3 separate regions of the Homo sapiens genome follow, and all the other regions are linked to region 1. The links are contacts of gene promoters, found by promoter capture Hi-C in blood cells and fetal thymus (Javierre and others, 2016). All regions are on one chromosome and are shown on one strand. The core of a region is centred on a gene start or on the middle of the fragment in contact, and the rest is flanking DNA. Distances in the headings are between cores, read along the strand shown. Region 1 holds the start of SLC35A2 (solute carrier family 35 member A2). Region 2 overlaps PPP1R3F (protein phosphatase 1 regulatory subunit 3F). Region 3 holds the start of RBM3 (RNA binding motif protein 3).

Region 1 (4,176 bases), core at 1,677-4,176:
GGACAAGGGTGTACAGCCCCCCAGAGTGGATCTCTCGACACCAGTACCATGCACTCCCGGCCACTGTCTGGTCACTGGGCATCCTCCTCTATGACATGGTGTGTGGGGACATTCCCTTTGAGAGGGACCAGGAGATTCTGGAAGCTGAGCTCCACTTCCCAGCCCATGTCTCCCCAGGTGAGGCCTCACTGACCCCAGCCCAGAAGACTCCATCCTTCTCAGGGACCAGTACCCCCTACTGACTGCTAATCTTCCCTCTCTGCTTCTTGGCCTACAGACTGCTGTGCCCTAATCCGCCGGTGCCTGGCCCCCAAACCTTCTTCCCGACCCTCACTGGAAGAGATCCTGCTGGACCCCTGGATGCAAACACCAGCCGAGGATGTACCCCTCAACCCCTCCAAAGGAGGCCCTGCCCCTTTGGCCTGGTCCTTGCTACCCTAAGCCTGGCCTGGCCTGGCCTGGCCCCCAATGGTCAGAAGAGCCATCCCATGGCCATGTCACAGGGATAGATGGACATTTGTTGACTTGGTTTTACAGGTCATTACCAGTCATTAAAGTCCAGTATTACTAAGGTAAGGGATTGAGGATCAGGGGTTAGAAGACATAAACCAAGTCTGCCCAGTTCCCTTCCCAATCCTACAAAGGAGCCTTCCTCCCAGAACCTGTGGTCCCTGATTCTGGAGGGGGAACTTCTTGCTTCTCATTTTGCTAAGGAAGTTTATTTTGGTGAAGTTGTTCCCATTCTGAGCCCCGGGACTCTTATTCTGATGATGTGTCACCCCACATTGGCACCTCCTACTACCACCACACAAACTTAGTTCATATGCTCTTACTTGGGCAAGGGTGCTTTCCTTCCAATACCCCAGTAGCTTTTATTTTAGTAAAGGGACCCTTTCCCCTAGCCTAGGGTCCCATATTGGGTCAAGCTGCTTACCTGCCTCAGCCCAGGATTCTTTATTCTGGGGGAGGTAATGCCCTGTTGTTACCCCAAGGCTTCTTTTTTTTTTTTTTTTTTTTGGGTGAGGGGACCCTACTCTGTTATCCCAAGTGCTCTTATTCTGGTGAGAAGAACCTTACTTCCATAATTTGGGAAGGAATGGAAGATGGACACCACCGGACACCACCAGACACTAGGATGGGATGGATGGTTTTTTGGGGGATGGGCTAGGGGAAATAAGGCTTGCTGTTTGTTCTCCTGGGGCGCTCCCTCCAACTTTTGCAGATTCTTGCAACCTCCTCCTGAGCCGGGATTGTCCAATTACTAAAATGTAAATAATCACGTATTGTGGGGAGGGGAGTTCCAAGTGTGCCCTCCTCTCTTCTCCTGCCTGGATTATTTAAAAAGCCATGTGTGGAAACCCACTATTTAATAAAAGTAATAGAATCAGAAGCGGCTGGCCATTTGTAGGTGTGAGGCTTTTATGGAGCATCTACTGTGCACTGAGACAGACTGTCCCTCTGCTTTGTCCTCAGGAAGCCACAGTCTTATGTTGCCATCCTAAAGAGCTTTAAGGATTCTTGAAGCTGCACCACACACACACAAAAAAATCTTGATTCCCCTGCCCCTGATCTTATGCAGTGCCCAGTATGTGCAGAAGGGTTCTCTGTTGGAGATACTGTGCATATTGAAGGTGTTTAGGGCACATCCCCAATCAAGATGGCTATCTCAGAAGCAGAAAAACTACCTTCCCTGGCACCCCAGGGGAATGAAGAAGCCCTTTCCCCTGTTGCAGAAGAAAAGCCCTGTCAGGGTACTGGCCAGGGCGGGGCTGGGGTTGGGCGCTGACTGGAATCTGTCCAGGGTGTAGTCACCTGTTTTGCTCTTTATCTTTAGCCTCTTCCCCCATCTTTACCCTTACATACCCATCCCTCTAATTTCTCCTTCAACACTTGACTTACCTGGCCTACCCTATTCCATGTTGGTTTCACTTGTTCCGACCTGAGTTGTTCCCTCTCTTGCCCTGCTTATTTGTCTCGGTTCAGTATAAACTCCGCCTTCCGGGTTCCAGCGGTTCTCCTGCCTCAGCCTCCAGAGTAGCTGGGTACAGGTGCATACCACTAAGCCCGGGTAATTTTTTTTTTTTATTTGAGACGGGGTTTTGTCGTTTTGCCCAGGCTGGAACTCCTGAGCTCAGGTGATCGCCCGGCTCAGCCTCCCAAAGTGCTGGGATTACAGGCGTGAGCCACCGCCTCTGGCCCGGACTCTTGCCCTGCTTCCAAATGCTAGCTAACCTGTGAGCCTTTCGCCTGTCCCCTTTGCCATCCTCAGTGGTGACTCACTTGTCTTCCCTTATGTGCGTCAACTTTCCTTTGCATTTTCACTTGTTTATCCTCACCTGCTCTGCTTTTATCTGCTAGCTTAACATTCCTGACTCGCACCTGATGCCAGTACGCCCTCACCCCGACCCCGCCAGGTCAAAGTTTCTTCGTCCCCAGATTCCCGTGTGCTCTCCAGGGGGCGAGGCCTCTCTGGAAGACGGGAAAGCGGAATTTCAGTCCAACCATGAAGCACCTGGTAGTTTCTGATACGGAAAGGGCGGCGCCTTATGGAGAAGCTGCCAATAAAGAGCCGAGATGAAAGGGGTGGCTGAACCAATGAGTCTAGGAGACAAGATCGGGGGATGATCTGGAAAGCGCGATCAGTGAAGCGGACGAACGGCAGGATAAGGCGGGTCTAGTGACAGGAATGGGCCGATGAAGCTCTGTAGGGATGGTGGGTAGGCCGATCGGGCCGTGTCCCCGGCCTCCCGATCCGACGGAATTTGGAAATCCCGGGGCTATTCATACATTGAGCTTTTAGGAGCGGAGGAGAAAAGCCACCACCCTGACGATCCCGGCTCTCGCTCCACCTTCACTCAGGTGGCCCGGCAGCGGAAGTGACGAACGCGGAAGTGGTTTTTCTGTTGCCGAGGGGACGGGCCGGGCAGATGCCAACATGGCAGCGGTTGGGGCTGGTGGTTCCACCGCGGCGCCCGGGCCAGGGGCGGTTTCCGCGGGTGCATTGGAGCCGGGGACCGCCAGTGCGGGTGAGACAGTCTGCCCGAGCAGTCGCATGGGAGGCGGAGGTCGGGATCGCTGGGAGTCGGGAATGTTCCTCACTAAAGTGAGAGGGAGCATCCCGTGTGGACCGACGTGTGTGTGTGTGTGTGTGTGCACATTGTCAGTGTGTTGGGGGCGGGGAAGAGAACATTCTGAGAGTGATTGTGGGATCCTTCCGCATATGGAGAGTAGAGACCATTGTGAGTGTGGTGGGTAATTCTTTTTGGGAAGGCTAAGGCCACCGAAACCATTCTGAATATGTGGAGTCCTTCCGTGTGGAAGAGACCATTCTGCGGGTGTGGGAGTTCCTCACTGAAGAAGGGGGAGACTATTCTGAGGGTGGTGGTTCCTTCCTTATAAAGGGACAGAGACTATTGTGAGTTAGGGTGGGGCGAGTCCTTCTTTATGTGACTAGAGAGGGTCCATTTTGAGGATGGGGGTGTCTTTCATTATGTGCGGAGGAGACCGTTCTGGGGGCTCCCTCCTAATGGAGGTAGAGTTCATTGTACATTCGGGTGGGAGGGCTCATCGTTATATGGTGGAGAAAGAACGTTCTGAGAGTGCCGGGTCCTTCCTTATAGCAGAGAGAGCTCATTGTGAGTGTGGGTAGAGCAAGGAAAAATTCATTAGCTAGAGGGTCCGTGTGCGGTGGTGGGAGGGCAGACCATGTGGAGTGCAGGGAAGTATTTCCTCATCTGGTTGAGGGAGCCAGACCTTTCTTGGTGGGATAACCATTCCTGATACAGGATTCAGTCCCTGGGAGCATGTGGGAATCATTTCTTGTATTTAGTAGACTATTCTGGTTCGAGAGGAACCAGTTGTCACAGGAGTGAGGGGTTGGAGAGACCATTCTGGGTATGAGGAGGATCATTCCATATGGGATGTAGGCCATTCTCAGTGTGAGGGAATCGAATCATTTCTTAGATAGGAGAAAGACCGTTCTTAGGGGGTGAACATACCTCATACAGTGGCCTCATTCCCTGCATTGATGTGTTATTCTTTACATGAGACAGTCCCTCATTAAACAGGAGCATCATTTCATATAAATTCTCAGTTTGCTAATCCATAAATGGGAATCCTCGCAGTTCTTTTGGAGATGACAGTGATATGAGTCTATTGAGGTAATCCATAGAAATC
Region 2 (4,176 bases), core at 992-3,491, 360 kb before region 1:
TGGCATCCCCTCAAGGGCAGTGAGCCATAGGGGCCAGGGCACACAGATCTGGAAAATCTTGGACATGCATCATTTGGGTGCTAGTGAGCACTAGTCAAGCTGGTGTCGACTAAAAGGGGCCATCTCAGGCCTGCACGCCAGTCTCCTGGGCGTGCAAATTCCTCCGGCCATCAGGAAACACAATGGCTGCCAAGCTGATAGGCCCCGAGGAGACCAGAGGGTGAGGATTTGGAAAGAGGTGGTGTTGGCCCCGGCCTAGGCCAGCCAAGAAAGCCAAGAAAGGTGATTCGCCAGTCACAGAGTAAGCGAGCGGGTGAGGGCTGACAAGCCCTGTGGAGAAAAGCAAAGCAGACTTTCAGAGCAGTCACAGACTGCCATTGCCACCACCACCCGAGTCCTCTGGAGCACCCCCAGCATTCATGTTTTCAAAGAATTTTGCCAGCCCAAAGTGGGTCAGGCACTGAAACCCAAAGGGAAACTCAGCAGACCCCGGCTCCCATGTAGTCAACCTGAAGATAACGCTGACTTTCCGGGGGGATGAGTGGCTTCAGAAACCTGCCCCACGATACTCAGAATTGCAGTTACCCTGAGCCATCTGCTTTCTGAAAAGAACAGGGTTTGAAGGTGGCTGTGAAAGCCACCAAGTTATGTGGGGCACTGCTTTGCCTTCCCCAACAAGTGTGTCAGCCTCAACTCTGGGACTTGCGGGTGATCCAGTGGGGTAGAGGGAGAGCAGTTTCTCGTGCCATGAGCTTCTTCAACAGCCATGACTTCATTCTTTGGCCACGACCCATAGTAAGAAATCCATTCTACATCATAACCCAGCACACCCACACGTGTAAACAGACATATAAATAACTGAAAAATGGTTGTTCTTCGAGTGAAACAATACTTACCTTTACTGCATGTGGTGATACACTGGCATTTCTTATGCTATTTCCTTTTTCTTTTTAATGCTTGTTGAAACCCAGTAAATTGATTTCACAACTCAATAAAGGGTTAGGATATGCAATTTTGAACAATTCCAGCTCTGCCACCTATCAGCTGTGTGACCTGGGGCAAGTTACTTAACCTCTCTGTGCCTCAGTTACCTCATCTCTAAGGAGGGGATAATAATACCTACATCAGTGAGTTGTTCAGCAGATCAAAGAAATATTTGAAAAGTACCTATAAAGCACTTAACAGTAACCCCCTCCAAATTTCCATTGAGGGAAACTGAAGCTCTGAAAGGAAAGCAACTTGCCCAGTGTTGCCCTGCTGGTAAAATGCATCACCCAGCCTGGTACAGTAGCTAAGAGCTGGAGCACTAGAGCAGGACCACACAGGCTCAGATCCCAGCTCTGCCACTTTCTTAGCACGTGGCCTCAGGCCCATGTCCTTAACCATAATGCCCTACCAAGTTTTCTGTGGCATAAAAGAGGATCACGTTCACATTAATTCCTCACTCTACAGAAAACTAAGATGCCCCTGACTTGTCCCGTTCAACTCCAGTTATTCTGGTTTCCCCTGAGGCTGCCAACTCAGATAGCAGGTTGGATCCCCATCCCTTCAGTTATAGGTGCACTGAAAGACAGTGGGCCTTCCTGTGCATCAGCCCCAGTGACGGATCCTGGAGACACCATGGTGAGCAAACCCAACTAGGAAGCTTACAATTCAGTATGGAGGAAGACATTAAAAAAATACTCAAACTCATTATTTCAACAAACATTTATTGAGCACCTGCTAAGTGCCAGGCACTGTGGCAGGCCTGCAGGAATACAGTGGTGAATGAAAGCAGACCATGTCCCTACCCCTCACGGAGCTTACAGTCTAGCGGGGCAGAGAGTCATCCAGCAACCCCCTAATAAAGATATAACTACAAACTGCGATCAGTGCCTTTAGAAAAGGAAAGAATGCCCTAGAATAAGGGTCCCTGGCCCAATCTACAGGGTCAGGCAGGGCTTACTTAAGGATGCTGAAAAGCAAAACGAGCAAGTGGGGAGGTAGGGGAGTGAGAGGCTGCTTGGGAACACTGTGGGAGAGGTGATGAATGCAGTCCCCGACAAGGTGAGTTTGAGGAATTATTTGGGCCATCAGTCAAGTGGAGATGCCGAGTTTGGATACATGAAGCTAAGGGAAGAGCCAGGAGAAAGAGAAGGGCCAGAGAGTTAAGAGGAAAACCAGCAGAGTGTGGTCTCAAGGCAAGGGAAGACAAAGTGTTTTAAGTAGGAGTGGTCAACCACTTCAAGAGGAAAACTAAAAAACCACCTGCAGAATCTGGCAGATGCCGGGGGCTAACACTTACGGGGGTGAGCAAGTGCAGAAGGCAAGTACAGGCAACTCTGCAGGGGTCAGCAGTGAAGGGGAGGGTGATGAGGTGCTGGCCAGAAGCAGGAGGGAGAGAACGTGGGGTCAGCGGAGACAGAAGGGATGCTGGCACAGGCAAAGGTGAATAGAGGATCAAGCAAGGAGGGCAGCAGAAAACCTGCCAGGAGAGAAAAGGTGACTGATGATGTCAGATTCTAGAGCAAGTAGCAGAAACTGGGACCCAGAGCACAGGAGGGAGAAGTGGCCTGAGCAAGAAGGGACTCCTCGTCATCTGTAACACAGGGGAGGGAAATCAGCGTGCAGACTTGGGGGCCACAAGTTATAGGGAGTTCCATTCTTATGGCTTCTGTTTTGTTTTTTGAAGCAGGAGAGAAAGTCTGAAGGTAAAGAACATTTGAAAGAGTCACTTCAGAGGAGAAACGAGTGGATCAAAAAAATATAGTAGAACTGCTAGGCAGGGTGGCCGATGACCCCTCGACTGGTGGCGATGTTCATCTGCTCTGCCATGGGACATTCTCTAACAAAGCTTAGCACGTGCTGGGCTGATGAGTGCTATGAAAAAGCCAGGGGCCCGAGGACACTGGGGTGGACAGGCTCCCCTGGGGAAGTCCTCTTAGAACTGAGGGATCAACACTGGAGGAGACTGCAAGGGGTACGGGATAAATGTTCCTGGTGAAGGAAACAGCAGGGGCAAAGGCCCTGCAGCAGAAAGGAGCGAGGCCCTTTGGAGTAACAGAAAGACCATGGTGACAGGAGCTCAGAAAGACCACTGGTGTTAAGACTATGAGCCAGTGGAGGCCAGATTGGGGAATGGGATGGGAGGGTGCTTGAAGACCATGGTGAGGCTCTCTTGGTCTTTACTTTTAAGAAGAATAGGACACTTCCAAAGGGTAGTGTCAAGTGCCAAGGAAGATCAGGAGGGCTTTTCCCCACACCAGCCCTAGGACTTTGGACTCTGGGAGCCTCAGTTTGCTCATCCAGGAAAGAGAAATTTAAAACCCTCTACTTCACAGGGAATGTTGTCGGAATTAAACCAGACCTTGCATGAAAATATAGTACTCAGTGAAGTGCCTGGCGAAGAGCAGGGGCTCAGCCAGGTCTCATACAACAAATCCTCTGTACTCCATCCCACAAGCCCTGTGACATCTTAGGACCACTCTGCATCTCTTTCCCTGCTGGAACCTAGCACTGTGCCCAGCACACAGTAGGCAGTCAATAAATGCTTGTCGATGAATCATCTCTAAGCTTTAGAGTTACCAAATGCCTGGTCCAGCAACCCAGGGAAAGCAGCCATTTGGGTTTCTGAACTCTATCCTGATGGCTACCACGGACTTCTCCCATGCCCTCACCTGATGTGGCTGTGCTCAGTGCACAGAGGGCCTACAGCCAACATTTCCTCAACAGGAAGCCCTCTGATAGGGCTCCCACAGGTAAGGGATATACCCTGAGATCCTCCGCCATTTCCCAAGAGGGCTAGGTCACAAAGGGTGGCTAGTCTTCAACAGTGCTGCAAGTCACTGGCAGCACACAGGTTCTAAAACAATAATATGTTGAAATGTACTCACCAAGAAAGCCACCGACCTACAAAGAAACCCTTATCGCTGATCTTGCAATGAGCACCAACCTCCCCTTTGCAAGAGCTGAGATCGAAAGATAAAGAAGCTATCAAAAAGCCATCTGCCCACTTAAAATAATATCACAAGTCATGTTAGGAACCACAGACCTGGGGCCAGATACCAAAACAATTGTCTGAACAGGCTGCTTCAATTTCTCCTTAAAACCGCCCATGTATGTTAAAAGAAAAACACCCTCTCCACCCACCTTGGCCCTGCAAGGTTTTGATTTCTCTGTTCTCTGCCTTTCACACTC
Region 3 (4,176 bases), core at 675-3,174, 340 kb after region 1:
TGCGACCACGCCCATGGGCCCCAAAGCCACCTCCTCTGGTTCCCCGAGCAGACTTGCCTGCATGATCCACACGGATCTGACGACCATCCAGAGACTAAGTGTGGGAGACACAAGGATGATGGGTTGGCAGTCAGTCAGGGCAATGGTGAGGGAAGAGCAGGCAAGGGTAAGTGGGCAAAAGAGGCCAAAAATTCCTGCTGGGCACCAGGTTCTGGGTGCCATGTTCCAGAATAAGCTCCTTTACCCCAGAATGGCTTCATCAGGAGCTATAGAATCCCACACAAAATGACCTGAATGCACCATGTTCCCCTTGCTACTACTTACATCTTGACTGAACTCAGGCTGAGTTCTCCTCCCCACTCCTCTAAGCTGCCCGACTATCAGGGCTAGACAGACACCTCTCTTGGTTTGAGGCTTCAGAGTCCATGTCAGAAGACTCACGAGGTCCTCTCCGGGCCAGGCCCACAGGTCTGCAGACTCTACTACCTAAGCCCAAGGCAGGTCAACCATCCACAGGTGGCTTCTCGGCCTCATGCAGGACCAGTCGTCGCCTCCCAGGCGGCCAGGCTCTGTCTGCCGCTGCCCTCCACCCCCTAGAACAAAAGGCAGTCATGCTCCTGTGAGTGGGCACTGCGGGGCTTGGTGGCCACGCTGCCCCGAGCAGACACAGAGGGAAAAACAAAAAGAATGAAGGAAGCCGCAGATGGGGACAAGGTCCCTCTGCAGATAGGAGGCCCCACCTCTCCGTTCATGGCTCTCATGGCAACTGAAGCATGCTCTGGGTTGGTGAAGGTGATGAAACCAAAACCCCTGGACCGCTGAGTCTCCCGGTCCTTGACAACGACCACTGTGAGAGGGAGAGAAGATGGAGCAATGTGGACCAGTCAGTACCCCAAAGGTTAAGTAGCAAAGGGTGGCCGGAAAAGGAGATGGCATAGGTAGGGAAAACGGAGCGCTCCCACTAATCCCAAAGACGCTTCCCCTCATCCTTAGTCTACACCATAGGCTTAGGAAGAAAAAGAATTTGGAGGCGTGGGTCCTAACTTTTCAGTTAATACTCCTTGAAATGCAAGGATCCCAGACTTTCTCTCACCAACCCCCATTGTGAGTATGGCCCGTCTCACCCTCAGAGATAGGTCCGAAACTGCTGAAGTGGTCTTCCAGTGCCTGCTCGTCGGTGTTAAAGTTGAGCCCTCCCACGAAGAGCTTTCCTTCTTCAGAGGACATGGCAGTTCAAGTCCTGTGGGAAGAACATGAAGAATGGTGGCAGGAAGGAGAAAGAAAATGGAGATGTGAGAAAATAGCGAGACGGAAAGCAGAGAAAAAGCACAGAAAATAGACAAGAAAGAGGAACAAAATATGGGTAACTACAGAAAAGCTGAGAAAGGCGGCCAATAAGGTGGTAATCTGAGGAGCTGGCTCAGCGCAGCCACCATTAGGGGGCCACATTGCGCATGCTCTCACATTCATAGCCGCCACGCCCGTCATTTTGTGCCACTGCGCAAGCCCAGAACATCCCTGCGTTCCCTTAACGCCGGCAGAACAAGATGGCGGCGGCCACGTGGGATAAGGAAAGTAAGTGTCGGCTGTCGCGTGGTCACTGCCACCACCGACGCCACCAGTCCCTCCCGGTAGGCCTCACACTCAGATACAGCGCGCCGGCCTCCCACCAACCGAAATGTTTCACCTCCAAGCACGGGACCCGCCCGTCCCAGAGAAAGCCAAGCCTACGTGTCAGTGGCCATTACTCTCCCCACTCGCTATTCCCCGGTCACGGCCGGCGCGGCGCGTGTGTGGCGAGGAGCCGCCGTTTCGCAGGACATATGCAACTTACCTGGAAATTAAAACGTAAAAAACCCGGACGAACAGCGAGCTCGGAGGAGCACAAAAAACAGGGACGGGGCTGCGCCGGAAGACGATTGATAAAGAGTACGTAGCGAGAACGTCCCGGAACGTTCCCCTTGCGCGTCCCGGCGTGCGTGCTGATTGGCTGAGGCCAGCAGGAGCGGAGTGGTGGGGAGAGGAAGGGACAGCAAAGCGAAGGGAGCAGTGTTCTCCGCGAAATGGGGTGTTTCCGGAAATGGGGTGTTTCCGGAAATGGGGTCGACTTTTGAACAGCTGGTGCACCCTAAACGTCAGCATCCCCCCCACAACCGGCTGAGCTGCCTTTATCCCTTCCACAAAGGAACCTTCTCAATCTCATACTACTTGCTGTCCCTGACATCATCCTCCCGTCCTTGCCATCATTTCCCCCGCTGGATCGGATGTCTTCCTCACCATCGTAGTCGTCTTCCTCTAGGTCCCTGCCATTCTCTGATGTTAACCTCCTTCACCTTCTAGTTCTTTAACCTCATACCCTTTAAAGGCCTGACATTTTATCCCCCACCGTCACTGATGTCATCACCCTTCACAGTCCATGATGTCAGACCCAACGTTTTAAGGTTTGACCCTGACTCCTACTCTTTCTCCTCTGTGCTCAACATCTAGCCGCCTGTCATGGGACCCTTTTCCCTGGCGTCATTCCATCTCATCTCTGACTTCAGCCCTCACCCTTGTCTGACTGCTGGCGTGAAGCCAGCCCCTTAATTTTCTCACCAATAGACTGCCTGAGATGGCTTTTACAAAACAGGATGCTGGCCGGGCGCGGTGGCTCACGCCTGTATTCCCAGCACTTTGGGAGGCCAAAGCGGGCGGTTCACGAGTTCAGGAGTTCGAGACCTGCATGGCCAACATGGTGAAACCCCATCTCTACTAAAAATACAAAAAAAAAAAAAAAAAAAAAAAAAGAAAAAAAAAATTAGCTGGGTGTGGTGGCACGTGCCTGTAGTCCCACCTACTCGGGAGGCTGAGGCTGGAAAATCGCTTGAACCCGGGAGGCGGAGGTTGCAGTGAGCCGAGACCACGCCATTGCACTCCAGCCTGGGTGAAAACAAAACAAAACAAAAGAGGATGCTACGATCTTCAGAGGTTGTAAATCCCAATCCATAGAGCAATTTTTGCTCTCTTCGAAAGTAACTGAGCCCTTGCCGGGCGCAGTGGCTCATGCCTGTAATCCCAGCACTTTGGGAGGCCGAAGTGGGCAGATCACAAGGTCAGGAGTTCAAGACTACCCTGGCCAATATGGTGAAACCCTGTCTCTACTAACAATACAAAAAAAAAAAAAAATTAGCCGGGCGTGGTGGTAGGCACCTGTAGTCCCAGCTACTCAGGAGGCTGAGGCGGGATAATCGCTTGAACCCGGGAGGTGGAGGTTGCAGTGAGCTGAGATCATGCCACTGCACTCCAGCTTGGGCGACAGAGCAAGACTCAGTCTCAAAAAAAAAAAAAAAGTAACTGAGCCCTTGATTCACAGAAGGGACTTTCGCAATACACAATAGACTTATCCCAATCAAGTAGTGTCTGAGCCCACTGTTCACAATTTAGTCTTCAGTGTCTTGGCCACCTTTACAATAAATGGATTTGACAGATTTTTCACTTCTGAGCGCCACATCAACGAAGAATAAGTTAGTTTGCCCTCAGAGGCTAAATTTCTTATCCATAGAATGAATTTGCCCAACACAGACCAAATTTGCTAACATACAGAATACAGTACATCCATATTCCTGTTGGGGTAATTCCCATATTTATCTTCCTGTTATTGTCAGGGATTCCTCACATAGTCTAATTATTAATCCCTTAGGTGTTGGAAATAGCCTCTCCAGCTCTGGCATTTGTGTTATTAACTTTGTAAGCAGTAAACTTAGTTGAATAAAGATCCATAATTTTGATATAATCATTTTTCCCCCTATGTTCTGTGCTTTTTTCTGAGACGGAGTCTCACTCTGTCGCTCAGGCTGGAGTGCAGTGGCATGATCTCAGCTCACTGCAACCTCCGCCTCCCAGGTTCAAGTGATTCTCCTGCTTTAGTCTCCTGAGTAGCTGGGATTACGGGCATGTGCCACTATGCCCAGCTAATTTTTGTATTTTTAGTAGAGATGAGGTTTCACCATGTTGTTCAGGCTGTTCTCAAACTCCTGACTTCATGATCCGCCTGCCTCGGCCTCCCAAAGTGCTGGGATTACAGGCGTGAGCCACCACGCCCGGCCTGGTCTGTGCTTTTAAAGAAATCATTCTCTTTCCCAGGTCACAAAATGTTCCCCTACAGTTTCTTTCTTTCTTTCTTTTTTTTTTTTTTTG

What was found. Contacts are between HindIII fragments. The CHiCAGO score rates a contact against its expected background, and 5 or more counts as called.
Region 2: a contact is called between a fragment that was not itself captured here and the fragment with the promoter of SLC35A2 in region 1, in 1 of 17 cell types (neutrophils). The highest score is 5.5, in neutrophils.
Region 3: a contact is called between the fragment with the promoter of RBM3 here and the fragment with the promoter of SLC35A2 in region 1, in 1 of 17 cell types (neutrophils). The highest score is 6.9, in neutrophils.

What each region holds. Positions count from the first base shown.
Region 1 is chrX:48,910,396-48,914,571 of GRCh38, reverse strand. It overlaps SLC35A2 (solute carrier family 35 member A2), which reads left to right and starts at 2,926. Exons shown (of 5, transcript NM_005660.3): 1 at 2,926-3,026. The coding sequence starts at 2,936. PIM2 (Pim-2 proto-oncogene, serine/threonine kinase) reads left to right here. Exons shown (of 6, transcript NM_006875.4): 5 at 1-177; 6 at 278-1,390. The coding sequence ends at 441. RefSeq lists enhancers at 243-292, 1,983-2,032, 3,273-3,322 and a silencer at 3,683-3,732. The HindIII fragment of the contact is 18,859 bases long and covers 1-4,176 here.
Region 2 is chrX:49,273,285-49,277,460 of GRCh38, reverse strand. All of the region lies in intron 1 of PPP1R3F (protein phosphatase 1 regulatory subunit 3F), which reads right to left. Among named protein-coding and RNA genes, the nearest start is that of PPP1R3F, 5.6 kb to the right of the region's middle. RefSeq lists an enhancer at 1-253. The HindIII fragment of the contact is 1,188 bases long and covers 1,648-2,835 here.
Region 3 is chrX:48,572,232-48,576,407 of GRCh38, reverse strand. RBM3 (RNA binding motif protein 3) reads right to left here and starts at 1,924. Exons shown (of 7, transcript NM_006743.5): 1 at 1,835-1,924; 2 at 1,125-1,240; 3 at 741-847; 4 at 1-94. The coding sequence starts at 1,227. RefSeq lists enhancers at 1,597-1,866, 850-2,049 and a cis regulatory region at 1,806-2,791. The HindIII fragment of the contact is 13,325 bases long and covers 1-4,176 here.